Linked DNA regions of Homo sapiens: all the other regions are linked to region 1. Evidence: promoter capture Hi-C in 16 types of primary human blood cells and fetal thymus (Javierre and others, 2016). All regions are on one chromosome and are shown on one strand. Each heading gives the region's core, a stretch centred on a gene start or on the middle of the fragment in contact. The rest is flanking DNA. Distances are from core to core; before and after follow the strand shown. Region 1 holds the start of SLC10A4 (solute carrier family 10 member 4). Region 2 overlaps TEC (tec protein tyrosine kinase). Region 3 has its middle 27 kb from the start of TEC. Region 4 has its middle 8.3 kb from the start of SLAIN2. Region 5 overlaps SLAIN2 (SLAIN motif family member 2).

What was found. Contacts are between HindIII fragments. The CHiCAGO score rates a contact against its expected background, and 5 or more counts as called.
Region 2: a fragment that was not itself captured here is called in contact with the fragment with the promoter of SLC10A4 in region 1 in 1 of 17 cell types (erythroblasts); the score reaches 7.0 in erythroblasts.
Region 3: a fragment that was not itself captured here is called in contact with the fragment with the promoter of SLC10A4 in region 1 in 1 of 17 cell types (megakaryocytes); the score reaches 7.5 in megakaryocytes.
Region 4: a contact is called between a fragment that was not itself captured here and the fragment with the promoter of SLC10A4 in region 1, in 2 of 17 cell types (megakaryocytes and erythroblasts). The highest score is 6.4, in megakaryocytes.
Region 5: a contact is called between a fragment that was not itself captured here and the fragment with the promoter of SLC10A4 in region 1, in 1 of 17 cell types (erythroblasts). The highest score is 5.7, in erythroblasts.

The regions. Positions count from the first base shown.
Region 1 is chr4:48,481,905-48,484,739 of GRCh38, forward strand. SLC10A4 (solute carrier family 10 member 4) reads left to right here and starts at 1,439. Exons shown (of 3, transcript NM_152679.4): 1 at 1,439-2,247. The coding sequence starts at 1,658. RefSeq lists a cis regulatory region at 1-104 and silencers at 1,359-1,408, 1,489-1,618. The HindIII fragment of the contact is 5,112 bases long and covers 712-2,835 here.
Region 2 is chr4:48,260,793-48,263,627 of GRCh38, forward strand. The region is part of intron 1 of TEC (tec protein tyrosine kinase); the gene reads right to left. Among named protein-coding and RNA genes, the nearest start is that of TEC, 7.6 kb to the right of the region's middle. The HindIII fragment of the contact is 969 bases long and covers 986-1,954 here.
Region 3 is chr4:48,295,733-48,298,567 of GRCh38, forward strand. No RefSeq gene overlaps it. Among named protein-coding and RNA genes, the nearest start is that of TEC, 27 kb to the left of the region's middle. RefSeq lists an enhancer at 1-1,128. The HindIII fragment of the contact is 499 bases long and covers 1,175-1,673 here.
Region 4 is chr4:48,331,782-48,334,616 of GRCh38, forward strand. No RefSeq gene overlaps it. Among named protein-coding and RNA genes, the nearest start is that of SLAIN2, 8.3 kb to the right of the region's middle. The HindIII fragment of the contact is 5,021 bases long and covers 1-2,835 here.
Region 5 is chr4:48,348,531-48,351,365 of GRCh38, forward strand. All of the region lies in intron 1 of SLAIN2 (SLAIN motif family member 2), which reads left to right. Among named protein-coding and RNA genes, the nearest start is that of SLAIN2, 8.4 kb to the left of the region's middle. The HindIII fragment of the contact is 2,490 bases long and covers 203-2,692 here.

The DNA of each region.
Region 1 (2,835 bases), core at 189-2,688:
ATCTTTCTTTTTACCTACATAAGGTGACATGTCAACTTAAAATATTTTTGGTCACAACCCACTTCCTTTAAAGTTTAGCTCACTGAAGTTTTTTTTTCTGGGTTTAGTGTTTTGGAAAAGTGTAAGGGTACATTATCCTCCTAGATTCTTGCAAAAGCTCTGCCCTCGTGGAATTTACAGTCCAAAAGAGAAAAAATAAATTATTTGTGATGAAGAGTGCAATATGCTTTGCATTTGCAAAGTCTTACTTTTCATAGTCTCCATCATCTTCATGAGATTTGGGGAGGAGGAAAGGCTCAGCCCACCCTTGGGTAATAGAAGTCACTCTGTGCCAGGACAGGAGTTAGGGAAAAGTTCCCAGATAGAAGAATTCACTATATCTTGGCTCCTTGTGAAAGCAACCCTGGGCTAAGACTGAGCCTTGATTTCATTCTAGAAATTCCTGTTGGTTTTTACAACTCAACTGACTATCACTTTATGGTCACCCCCAGGGAGCTAGATGCCTCCTTAACAGGCCCCACCTGGTTGGTAAGCAGCGAAATTATTTTCCTTTCTACATGCCATCTAGTGACTGACTTAAAAGTTGTTGCATCTCCATTCCTAAGAGCTCTGCTTTTGAATTGTTTTGGGATAAACCTGTCTCAAGCAGGGAATCTCAGCACTTTATTTCTTTTCAGTCCTTTAATCCTAATGCCAGGGCCTTACTCATAAAGCTTCGTAAATCTGTGGCCACTGAAATATCCTCTCTCCACCTGCCAATAACTTCTTAAACACACATTTTTCATGGAAATTGTTATTAGCCAAGCTCTTCTCTGCCCTCTTTAGGGACACATCGCCGTGCAGATTCAGCCAGGTACTTGTGGGTTCGGTTGATAAGACTGAGAATTCCTCGTTCCTCAGTTTCCTCGTTTGTAAAAATCGAGCTTGTAAAAATGGTATCTATCTCACGGCTTTGCTGTAAGAATCGAATGAAATAATGCACACGCACTTGCACAAAACCCGCTATATTATTATTACATTCTACTTTAAGACTGAAAATCATGCAAAAAATTGTTTGCAAATTCAAGCCAGATATCGTGTCCTGCTTACTAGAGAATCGCTCATATTAAGTCAAGCACCCCTCTTAGGGCTGCAGGCTATAGGAACAGTTTCTGCCATGAGCGTGCATCGATGAGGTTATCCACCCGCCCCCTCCACTTTGTGTGTCTGGGTCTCCAGATTTCATTATAAAGAGGCAGAGCCCATCAGAGAACTTGATCGGCAGCCAGGAACGGTTTTTTCCTGCTCTGGTCCTTTGTCAGGTCTTTGTTCCGCCCCTGGCTACACTCGATAACAGAACCACTTACTGGCGATTCACAGGAGGGGACCGGGCGGCAGGGCGGGGCGGGGCCTGCGGGGCGCGGGGCCGCGGCGCGGAGCCGGCGCAGCGATTGGGTTCACCCGGGGGGCCGCGCTGCGCGGAGTGCCAGGCTGCGGGCGGCTGCAGACCTGGGAGCGGAGACCGGCCCGCCGCCCCCGACGCCGCCGAGCACGTCAGCGGCGCGCAGCCGGGGCTCGGAGACCGACGGGCAGAACGACGGGCGGCGACTGCGGCGACCGCGGGACGGCGAGAGGCACGCGGCGGGAGGGGACCGGAATCCGCAGCTCCGGCCGCGCCATGGACGGCAACGACAACGTGACCCTGCTCTTCGCCCCTCTGCTGCGGGACAACTACACCCTGGCGCCCAATGCCAGCAGCCTGGGCCCCGGCACGGACCTCGCCCTCGCCCCTGCCTCCAGCGCCGGCCCCGGCCCTGGGCTCAGCCTCGGGCCGGGTCCGAGCTTCGGCTTCAGCCCCGGCCCCACTCCGACCCCGGAGCCCACGACCAGCGGCCTCGCGGGCGGCGCGGCGAGCCACGGCCCTTCCCCGTTCCCTCGGCCCTGGGCGCCCCACGCGCTCCCGTTCTGGGACACGCCGCTGAACCACGGGCTGAACGTGTTCGTGGGCGCCGCCCTGTGCATCACCATGCTGGGCCTGGGCTGCACGGTGGACGTGAACCACTTCGGGGCGCACGTCCGTCGGCCCGTGGGCGCGCTGCTGGCAGCGCTCTGCCAGTTCGGCCTCCTGCCGCTGCTGGCCTTCCTGCTGGCCCTCGCCTTCAAGCTGGACGAGGTGGCCGCCGTGGCGGTGCTCCTGTGTGGCTGCTGTCCCGGCGGCAATCTCTCCAATCTTATGTCCCTGCTGGTTGACGGCGACATGAACCTCAGGTACGGATCTGTCTATTCCTTGGGCATCTGTCTCATCCCAGACGCGCGTTTACGGCCGTGGGCTCACGACGAAGGACAGAGGCAGTGGAGGGGTTGGAATTAGGCGTGGAGGAAGGAGGAGAAAAGGAGAGGAAGTTGATGACGCCCCGGCTTTAGAAGTCAAGGCCGACCTGCAGGTTGTGCTGCTAGGGGAGCAAGCTAGACGGCGAGGGAGCTGCTCCAAGGCTGGGATTCCATGCGCAGCGCGGCCCTTCAGCAGGGTCCCTCGCCGTCCTCCCCGAGCGTCGGGGTGGCAGCGCAGGTCGTTGTCCAGTGGAAGACAAAGAGAAGGGGGAGTCTGAACTAGAACTCGCCGGCAACGTAAAAGTAAAATAGGGCTACTGGCCCGTCAGAGAAAGTAATCTCACATAGAGTGCAGGATTGTTGAGTCCGACCAACAAGTAGCAGTCAGCAGCTTTACCATGGCTTACCTTGCAGGGGGCTTGCAAGGAAGAACGTTCCTTCCCCTCAGAATCATCCAGGCTCAATAGACTTTATAATGTCGAGGGCAGCAGTACCGAGACAGGGGGCTTGTTTTTCCTCCCTGCC
Region 2 (2,835 bases), core at 220-2,719, 220 kb before region 1:
ATAATGCTCCTTAATTATTTTCTAGAACATTGCTAAAGATTTATTAAAAGTCAGCTGGTAATAGAGATGACTGGAAGGGGATTCACAAAGATTCTCTCTGGAATGGTTTTAGGGTTATTTTTAATTTCTTCTTTGTAAGCTTCAGTATTGTTTACATCTTCTAACAAGGAATATATAAAACTCTACAAAATGACAATTTTTTTTTACTGATGGCAAGGAGAGTCCAAGGAGCACACCAGGTGTCTGAGAACCTCGGTGGCACCCAAAGATCAAACTTTTGCCTGGGGGAAGCAAGATGGTGTGTCAACAGCTCTGAGCCTAAAAAATGTCTTCTGGCTAGGACTCCAGAACTTATGAACAAGAATTATTTCATGCAATGCTTCTATAACTGGTTTAAGTATGTGACAAAGACACTGACAATCCTTAAAAAAATTCAAAAGCATGTATACCTAAATTTACATGTCTGACAGCATTCAAACCCAGTTAAATTGTATTTCTGTTTCCCTGCATGGTTGAAGGATCAAGCATTTTTATCACCCAAGCAGGAAAATGAAGAAATCAACTGCCTTCTACAAATCAAAAATAACCCTAATAGTAAAAACTAACTTTGTTGCATGCTTAAATCATATTGGCAGAAAAATGAAACTTTAAATCACTCTTGTAAGAAAAAAAGCCAGTTTCATTTTTGGGGCAGTCATATGGAAATCCCACAAGTCGTGGTTGAAACATAATATTGAGGAGTATGTGAGGACATTAAGAGTTTCTAAGGAAATAGTAACAAAAGATATCATTGGAATTCCATGAAGGATAAGAGAAGAAAAATCAAAGGTTTTTCCTACTAAATCACATTATAATGTCACCAAAATTAAAAATAAAAGGAGTAGGATACTTGACAGGGAGTTTCACCTTGTAAGTATCTCATATAGTACATGACAAGTTAAAGTCTGTCGCTTTGATACTCTATTGTAAGCATTTCAAGGTTAAAAGCTTTAACCTTGAAAAACAAATGACATATAGTTACAAAAGGCAAAAGTATATATTGTAGAAATCCAAACAAAAGTGTTCCTCCTTTAGAAACATAAAACTGATGAGATAACATAATGAATACTTACTTCCCTCCCTCCTCCAAAAGCCATTCTTTGTAGCCATAAAAACTAAGATAATCATAACACTATGCTAAGAAAAAATATACAGATGGAAAATAATGATAATAATGTATGTTGTCCTTTCAAGAATGTTTTCAGTGAAGAATATTTCTAAATAATACAAGAAACAATACACTTGAGAAAACTTAAATTGAATGCTCTATATTTCAATCCATATATAGACAAGTGATGTGAAAGTCTAATCAAGAATTTAGAGAATTTAGATTGTTGAGTACAACTTGGGTAATTGTGACCAAATGTCTCTTTTTTTTTTTTTGAGACGGAGTCTTGCTCTGTTGCCCAGGCTGGAGTGCAGTGGTGCGATCTCAGCTAACTGCAACCTCTGCTACCTGAGTTCAAGAGATTCTCCTGCCTCAGCCTCCCGAGTAGCTGGAATTACAGGCACGTGCCACCAGGCCCACCTAATTTTTGTATTTTTAGTAAAGATGGGGTTTCACCATATTGGCCAGGCTGGTCTTGAACTCCTGACTTCAAGTGATCCACCTGCCTCAGCCTTCCAAAGTGCTAGGATTACAGCCATGAGCCACCACTCTTGGCCCAAATATCATTTTTTCTTAACTATAAAGTGTCCAAAATTGTCTGGAAAATTCATTCAGTATATTAAGTACTTGCTTGGTACTATGCTTTCCCTAGGAAAGAACTTCTGTGAAGACCCAGTACATTACAGAAAAACTATACTGCCTGGAAAAGGGAGGTTCCAATGACTTCAAAGACTTCGTTTAGAAAAGGGAAGGATGCTTGTGGAAGCACAGTGGGAGGAATGAGCTCTGCAGTATCCCTACTAGCCAAGCTTTTGTTCACAATGGTGCCTAGTGGTACCTGCTGAAAAAGCCTTTTTAACCATCTGTCATCCTCCAAAGATAAAGTAATTGTTGCACCCACTCCATTGTCACAATCGCCAGCACTCCTGTTTTCTGTATTGCCAATGCATAGCTGCCATCATGGGAAGATCGAGCTTTGCTTTTTCTGCACAGATAAGATGGCTTAGGAACAATTATCCTCCTACTTTTGTGGAAACTGACTCTTGTCATCATGTGTGTAACCATAAAGAATGTTGATGTTACAAAGCAACTGGGAGAGCATGCTGGAAGTTCACAGCCCATTAAGGGAGCCTGAGGAATGACTCAACTGATGAAATGACGTTGGGAAAGTCGTGATCATCCACAAACGGCAGGGTACATCAGCCCAGCCAGAAACAGGAACTTGGTTCACATTCCAAGGAGGGCACAAGTGGAAAGGGAAGTAAGGGTGCTGCTGCTGGTAAGGCAGTTGTGTGATAAACTGGCCTCCAGAAGGAAATAATGATAACTTCCATTGAGGCCACATGGCCATCAATGACACCAATCCCATCTTTCAGATTAAAATAATATTGGACTTAATAGAAGCTGCACTTCACTGAAAGGTAAAACATTCAGAGGTCAAGATGGCAGAAAGAGTCATCCTACACAAAGTGAATTCAAGAAACAGGAACAATAGGCCAGGCGGTGGCTCACACCTGTAATCTCAGCACTTTGGGAGGCCAAGGCAGGCAGATCACCTGAGGCCAGGAGTTCGAGGCCAGCCTGGCCAACATGGTGAAACCCTGTCTCTACTAAAAATACAAAAATTAGCTGGGTGTGGTGGCGTGCACCTGTAATCCCAGCTACTCGGGAGGCTGACGCAGGAGAAT
Region 3 (2,835 bases), core at 174-2,673, 190 kb before region 1:
TTTCCTGCTTTGTTAACTTTAACAGAAAAAGAAACATCTTAAGACTTGTACCCTATCTATTGAACATCCTTCCATCATAATGCAACTCAATCAACTCTTCTGAGGCTGATAGAAACATTCGAATGGACAACTCAGGATATTACCAGCTCCTATCATGGATCCTAAGTGTAGGTATTTTGATTAAGTGTCAAATGGCAAAGTAGCATGAGAATTTGACTGCTTCAGGTATAGGTAAAGTTAGAGGGGAACAGTGAGGGACAGAGAAGTTAGCTTCCCTCCTTCCTTGAATGACCTAGAGCTAGCTAGCTCCTGAGATCATAGAGAAAATAAACCCCCCGCTGTGTTTAGAATGAAATAGAAAAGTTCAGAATTCACAATAAAAACCAGCGAGTCATATCATAATATAGGTATGTACATATATCAATGGTTTTGTTCAAAGAATATTAAGTGAACAGTCACAATGATGTCAATGGTTTTGTTCAAAGAATATTAAGTGAACAGTCACAATGATGTCAATGGTTTTGTTCAAAGAATATTAAGTGAACAGTCACAATGATGTCAATGGTTTTGTTCAAAGAATATTAAGTGAACAGTCACAATGATGTATAGAACAAATTTCAATTGCTATATTTACAAATCCACAGACCTACTATATTAATACATTTTTTAAATTTACTCACTTCTTTCACTTAAATCCACTTAGTAAGGAAACCGAAAGTGCAAAGATGTGTTATTTCCTCCCTCTACCTCGTCCACTTTCAATCTCGACCTCCGACTCAGCCCCAGGCACTCAGCACCTAGCTCCTTCACGCATCCCCCTGCTGTTGGCCATCAGATAAATCCTCCTCACTCAGCTTGGGCTAGAGCTTTCTCTAGTGCTCCCAGGTGTAACTCCCAGCATGCTGTGGGAGTGGAATGTTGTGATGGACAGGAGCTCTGCCAAGTGGTCTGTCCAGAGCAGCAGCTATCCAATATAAATATAAGATGAGCCACACATGCAGGCCACATGTGTAATCGAAAGTGTTCTAATAACTACATTGAAAGAGGTAAAAAGAAATAGGCAAAATTAATGTTAATAAGGTATCTTATTTAAACCAATTTATCCAAAATATTATCACTTCAACATGTGATTGGTACAAAAAAATTATTAAGATGTTTTGCCTTCTTTGTACTAAGCTTTCACATTTTTGTGTATATTTTATACCTACAGCACACCTCACTTTGGATTCATCACTGTCAAGTGATTAATAGCCATGTGTGACTAGTGGCCCCAGATCTAGAGCATACCATGGTAGTACATTCACAGAAGGGTGAGCAGGGAAAACAACATTGTGTTAAATACTCCCAGGCATCACACTTTGGAAAACACTGCCGTTGGCGTTTCCATAGCCTGAGTTCATGATATAAAGGGATCCCTAGTCATTTTATATTAAATGAGATTCCTTAATTGACCCTAAAATTGCCCACAACCTCTTCAGAGAGATTGATTACCCTGTCCTAGGAAAGATCTTTCATACTGCAACAGATGCATCTAGATTCATCGTGGTCTGAATTGCCGTTCCTTTGGGCCATTGCTGAAACTAAGAAAAACTCTGAACTGGCAGCATTTGGTTAGATAATGGTTTCTGTTTTCCCTTCTATCTCCTGGCAAGTTTTGCAATTTTACAATCCAAAGCTTTCAAAGCTGTTGGTTGTCAATTAGCTGCTCCTATGGTATTTATACTGTACTCTAATTCTCATTTCAGGCCATGTGCATAGTCAACATGGAGTGTGAAAAAGACTATTTAAAGCATATATCCATTTTTTAAAGTTATCCTCACTACATGTAAAAATAGCATACACCCTGTCATCTTGAGTGAGAATTGTTTAGACTAGTCACACAGCTCTGCTATCTGAATCCACTAGGCCACAGAATTGCTCAACTCTGTTTGCCATTGACAATATAGGTCTGCTTAATTATGCATGTTCTGTTTTGTGTTTCAGTTTTTCTGAAAATAAAGGATATGAAAAATAACTGGTTATTTTTTTGCCATCTGTAGGCCAATGAGTTATGAAATCATAAAATAGAATTTCATAAAATAGAATTATAGATGATGAAAGGATTAGTGGCTCTTCAGGCAAAATCTGTCATATTTTAGATGAGGATAGTTCTTTTAAAAATATCTACAAGTCTTGATCTGGATTTTAATCCAGAGATTTTTGAAAAATAAAGATATTTTGAATTATTTATATTCTTAAGAAATAAGTAAAATAATTTTAACATCTCCCTAACTTAATATATTTGCTTAACAATCTTTTTTTTTTTTTTTTTTTTGAGATGGGGTCTCACTCTGTCGCCCAGGCAGGAGTGTAGTGGTGCAATCTCAGCTCACTGCAGCCTTGACCTCCCAGGTCCAAGCAATCCTCCCACTTTAGCCTCCTAAGTAGCTAGGACTACAGATGCCTACCATCATGACTGGCTAATTTGTATTTTTTATAGCGGCAGGGTTTCGCCATGTTGCCCAGACTGGTCTCGAACTACTGAGCTCAAGTGATCCACCTGCCTCGGCCTCCCAAAGTGCTGGGATAACAGGCGTAATCCACCACACCTGGCCCTTAACAATCATTTATTGAATCTCCCAGGTGCAAAGAAGACTGATAGATACAGAGACCATAAAAACAAACAATTCGATCCCTGTTTATATTTATTCTAATACATTATGATGGCAGATTACATGATTTGTAATGCTTTCAATAAACATCTAATAATATAGCTAACATGTTATTTATAATACATAAAGATACTTTTGTGGTTAACCACAGTGATGACATTAGTTAAATAACAAATTTAAATTT
Region 4 (2,835 bases), core at 109-2,608, 150 kb before region 1:
AGTCACATGAACTGAAATGTCACCAGTTGTTACAACACCAAACCCAACGCCACATGTAGACTGATGTTAGAGAACACAGAACATGAGTAAGCAGGGGTTCTGAGATAGAATAAGGGGGAAGGGGGCAAATGGCAAACATGCAAGAAACAGAGAGAGAGCCCATCAAAATATAAGTTAGGTCCTGTCACTCCTCGGCTCAAATCCTGCCTTGTCTTATGTCATACGGAGTAAAAGTCAGTCTTCACAACTGACTACAGGCTGTAAGGAATCTTTCCTCCATCTCTCTGACTTCATTTTCCACCACGCTCTTTGACACTCATTCCAGTTTAGTCATCCAACCTTGTTTTTCCCTGAAGCCAGGCACATTATTGCCTCAGGGCCTTTGTACTTGCTCTTCTGCTTGGTATGCTCATCCGCAGTTTCCTGCCTGGTTGGCTCCCTCACCCTCCTTCAGAGTTTTGTTCAAACATCATCTTCTAGGCGAGGCCTGCCCTGAGCACCCTATTTAAAATTGCAATCCCGGCCGGGCACAGTGGCTCACGCCTGTAATCCCAGCATTTTGGGAGGCCAAGGTGGGTGGATTACTTGAGGTCCGGAGTTCGAGACCAGCCTGGCCAATATGGTGAAACCCTGTCTCTACAAAAATAACAAAAATTAGCTGGGCCTGGTGGTGGGCACCTGTAATCTCAGCTGCTTGGGAGGCTGAGGCAGGAGAATCACTTGAATCAGGGAGGCGAGGTTGCAGTGAGCCGAGATTGCGCCACAGCACTCCAGCCTGGGTGACACAGAGAGACTCTCTCTCAAAAAAATAAAATAAAATTGTAATCTTGGCCAGGAGCAATGGCTCACACCTGTAATCCCAGCACTGTGGGAGGCCAAGGCGGGTGGATCACTTGAGTACAGAATTTGGAGACCAGCCTGTGCAACACAGCAAAACTCCATCTCTACAAAAAATAGAAAAATTAGCTGGGCGCGGTGGTATATGCCTGTGGTCCCAGCCACTCTGGGGGCTGAAGTGGGAGGACTGCTTCAGCCCAGGAGGCAGAGATTGCAGTGAGCTGAGATTGCACCACTGCACTCCAGCCTGGGTGACAGAGCAAGGCCTTGTTTCAAAATAAATAAATAATAAAATTGCAATTCTGCCCTCACCCACATTCCCTATCCTCCTTTCTCGATGTATTTCTTCTCCATAGCACTATTTCTATGCCCTTCACTCTATTCCCTCCTTCTCCATTTGTTTAACATTTTTATTGATTTTGGGTTTATCTTTCGATTGTATCTTTTTACAAACATAAGCATTTATGTATACATTTTCATATCCTTTCCTGCTTCTTGTGCTAAAGGTGTATACCATAAGCACCATTTTGAACCAGCTTTCCTGGAGCTTCATGGAGATCTTCATCTCTTTTCTTTTTATTGATGCACAGTCCTCCATTATGTGGATGTATCATAGTTTTTTAAACTAGCCCCATATTGATAATATTTGGGTTGTTCTCAGTCTTTTGCTATTGCAAGTAATACCATAAAAAATAGCTATGTGCATAGGTCATTATATGTTTTAGCCAGTTTACTTTTAGAATAGATTCTTAGAAGCAAGATAAGTGGATAGCTCCCTTTTTAAATTGAGATGATACAAGAGGATTTCTGTTCATTATATCCAACAAGTCATGATTAAGATTGCTACCTGTCCCTGTAGGTACATCTCAAGTGACACTTCTTCTGGGAAAACTCTTATTCCAGGCAGAAGGAATCTACTGCTAGTTCCCTAATATGCCCTCAGGTAAAAATAAAAAACAATCCTTATATTTTATATTCTTTCTTGTTCGCATCACTCACATGGCACTTTTTACATGCTGCTTTGTATATACAGTAATTTATGTACCTCTGATCTCCTTAAATGGACAATAAGCTGCTACCGATTAAGAAGCACATTCTTTTTGATGTTTATCATCTCTGGTCCCTAACAATGTGCCTTGAACTGGTAATGGATGACTGAATGAATAAATACAACAGGTATTTGTAATCCTGCACGTGACAGTGCCCCATATAAAAGTGTCCATGTGATTTATGTTTCACATAACATACCAGAAAAAAAATCTCAAGTGGACTAAAGAGTTGAACATAAAAAAGGTAAAAAATAAGAAACTATAAGAAAAAAAGTAGTAATATTTATTACCTGCTTAGAGGTCAGTTAAAGGATTGTTTGAGCCTTATGCCTTTATTTTTTTTCTTTTTCCCTGAACTAGTCACTGCTTGAGAAACTTACACCTTTAAATAAGACTGACACAATAAAATGAGCCTGGAGCCCTGCAGCACATCATTTTGGATCCTCTTAAATAGCTCCTCCCCATATTCTCTCATGGTAACAATCCTAGCTGGTGGTCCTTCAAGGGATGATTAAATGTTCTTGCCCAAATCTAAGGCTCCAGAGTCAAGCCCATTGATACAGCCATGTGGAAGATCTGGCAACTACATTATTGTGCTCAGGAAGAACCTCACCTTCTGTGTGGAGGTTGTGGCCTTTCGACTGAGTGTAGGAGAAGTTACTTGTTCTATGTTCATATGCCCTGCCTGGACTCTAACAGGCTACACCTACTCTTAAAGGGGACCTTGTGCAACATTATGATGTAGCTCTGAATGCATCAGAGGTGAAGAGATAGAAAGGCATGTCTTCTATCTTTGCTTTTGGAGAGGTTGCGGAAATTCATTGCCTCCCAGGTAGCCTGCAATTCCACCTCTGAAAGCAGTACACACTCTCCATCTGTCCTATAGTATATAAATACCCTCTCCCTACCAGGATGATTACAGTTAACACCGTGATCTGCCCTGCTGTCA
Region 5 (2,835 bases), core at 198-2,697, 130 kb before region 1:
TACAAAAATATTAGCTGGGCATGGTGGTGGGCGCCTGTAATCCCAGCTACTTGGGAGGCTGAGGGAGGAGAATTGCTTGAATCCGGGAGGCAGAGGTTGCAGTGAGCTGAGATCACGCCATTATACTCCAGCCTGGGCGACAGAGCAAGACTCTGTCTCAAAAAAAAAAAAAAAAAGAAGATACCTTTAAGACAGAGTGCTAAGCTTAAGTGTGAGGAGATATTTAGCAGCGGAAGCATCATGAATGTTTTCCCTTTAAGTCTGTGGCACATTTCTCTGAATATCCTCAGTAATGGCCAGTTGTTTTCCTCTTGAGGGTAGGTTTGAATTTTGAAAACCATTAGAAGTCATTATCTTGCCTGGTGAATAAAAATGAGTTAGCAGGGTATTTAAAAGTCCTCAGCAGTCCAGCGCTAATTTACTTTTTTCCTAGATTTACTTGCTTTTGCCAGAACCTTCAAGAACATTTATGCCCTTTGGCTTTTGATGTTCATCTGTTTTTTTCTCTTCCTCCTCTTACCAAAATTTTACTTATTCTTCAGGCACAATGCAGATTTTCTTTCCTTTGTGAAATTCTCCTGAATTTTTAACTTGGTTTACTTCCTCTTCATTGTTAACCTATCACTGTTTATATACCCTTTTTTAGAGTATATTTAACGCAACCACCTTGTGCTTTGGTCTGTGTAGTCTAGAATGTGAGCAGTTTAAGCAGAAGGATAGTAGCATATTCATCTTTATGTTTCTGAACAGGACCACAGTGTAGTAAGAGTTCAGTGACATTAATTTAAATGAAATCAATCTATCAGTGATGTTAGGTTAAAATGAGGCAAAACTGTAAAACAGTGAGACCAGATTTCTTACATGACGCTTATGCCAGTTACAGATGAGATACTTCACAGATTCTGAATAATGGCAGTATTGAATGTATACTTTCCCATGATGAATTAAAGAAGAAAATACTGTCTAGATGTAGTGTGTGATTTTTAAAATAAGTTTAAAAATTAGCCAAAATACTGGCATCGCTCTGTTTAGTAGGATTACAGAAGCACTTTGTTTTAAACTTCTTTGTACTTTTTGTGATTTCCAAGTTTTCTGATAAGACATGAATTGCTTTTAGAATTTAAAAAATCCTATTGATAAAATTTAAGTCAGTTTTATTACTCTGTGATCATGTGGGGATCATAATATAACATGATACATTAGAAGCCTTTTTACTTGTAGTTTTCCTTGTTACTTAGTAGTAGTAAGATTATATATCACAGATGGATACATTTTGGCTTCAACAAATATGGTTTCATTTATTGAGTAACTGCCATAGGTGGAGCACTGTGCTGTAATGATAGCACATTTTTGATAGAATTGGAACCCAAGATATGTATTTGATCTTATGATCTATTATTCTTGTTTGTTTTAAATTTAACAATTTAATTGGGCAAAAAAAACATTTATTGAACTGGGTAGCACCCAGGACCGAAAGTGATTTAGAATGCTTCTTAGAATGTTCTTAACTTTACACTTAAAAAATTAAATTCCACAAGTGTAACTATTAAAACATTTATCAGATCTACCTAAATAAATCATGTAGTCTGTTTTCATGAAAAACACAACTTTGGTTTTTAGGAATATCAGATAAGGAACACCAAAGTTGTATAGCTCACATCCTGTGAGCCTTCTGGATCACTGATGTTGCTACTGCTCCTCAGTCCCCATCTTTGGGGCCTCCGTGTATTCAAATTCCTATGCCAGATTGCCCAGGGAACCTGGTGCTGATACCCTGGTAGCCCAAAAAGGCTACTTGCCTTCTACTTCCACTTACGCAGACCCCTGCCTCCTTACCCTTCTGCTAGGAACATATCTATAACTATATAAATTCATGTAATTTTGACATTATTTTTTAAAATGGCAATTTGGGCAGTAAATAGCAGAATTAAGTAGTGTCTTAATATAAATGGTTTGCATTACCTGAATACACTATTCCTTGTAGTAATTATCTGTACTACCCAGAGCACATTGCATGTGACTCCTGTTGGGCTAATTTTCAGTAGCAAAAATGAATTTGTAAAATAATGTAGGTTTTAAGGCTTTGGTAATAATAAGTTCTTATTTCACCTCTTTCATTTACTCAAAATTACGTCTTCTGAGATCTTTTGGGATCGAAGTTATGGAGGAAATGAACAACTTTAGGACAAACTAGCTTATTTAAGAGGAAGGCTTTAAACTAGGTCTTTAGGAGTGGCTCAGAAATTGCAGAACAGTTTACTTTGATCTGGGAAAGGTCTCACATTCTGGAATAAAATAGAAATTAGAGACTTTAGAGAAAAAAATATTGATTCTATCTCCTTGAAATATGAAGAATAATAGATGCAATATAATGTAGTACCACGGTATCAGATATGAAATTCTTGAAAGTATTTGGAAAGATAAGACAAAGGAAGTTGTATTTAGTTAAAAATCAGGTTTATAATTCATGAGGATGAATCAAATCATCTCCCACTTCTGCAGTGTACTAGACTGAAACTCCTCCCCCACACATCCCTCTCCTACTCCATTCAGGAGCTTCTGCTCCTCTCTCTGTGAGACAGTAAGAAAGTACCCAATTATGTGTGGCTCTTGAGGCTTATTTTGTTTGAAAAGTGTGAATGAGAACCAGGAGTGGGCCAAGCTAGTCTGTAAGTGACCCTTGACTCCAATAAGCTTGAGGAATGGGATTTAATAGGTACTCTCAAGTTAGGTTTTTAGTATGCATTTAATACCTAATCGGTACTATATTCTATAGTGATAATCAGACTAAATTGTGTGTTTTTGCTAATACCTATTTAGTAGATACAGAAAGAG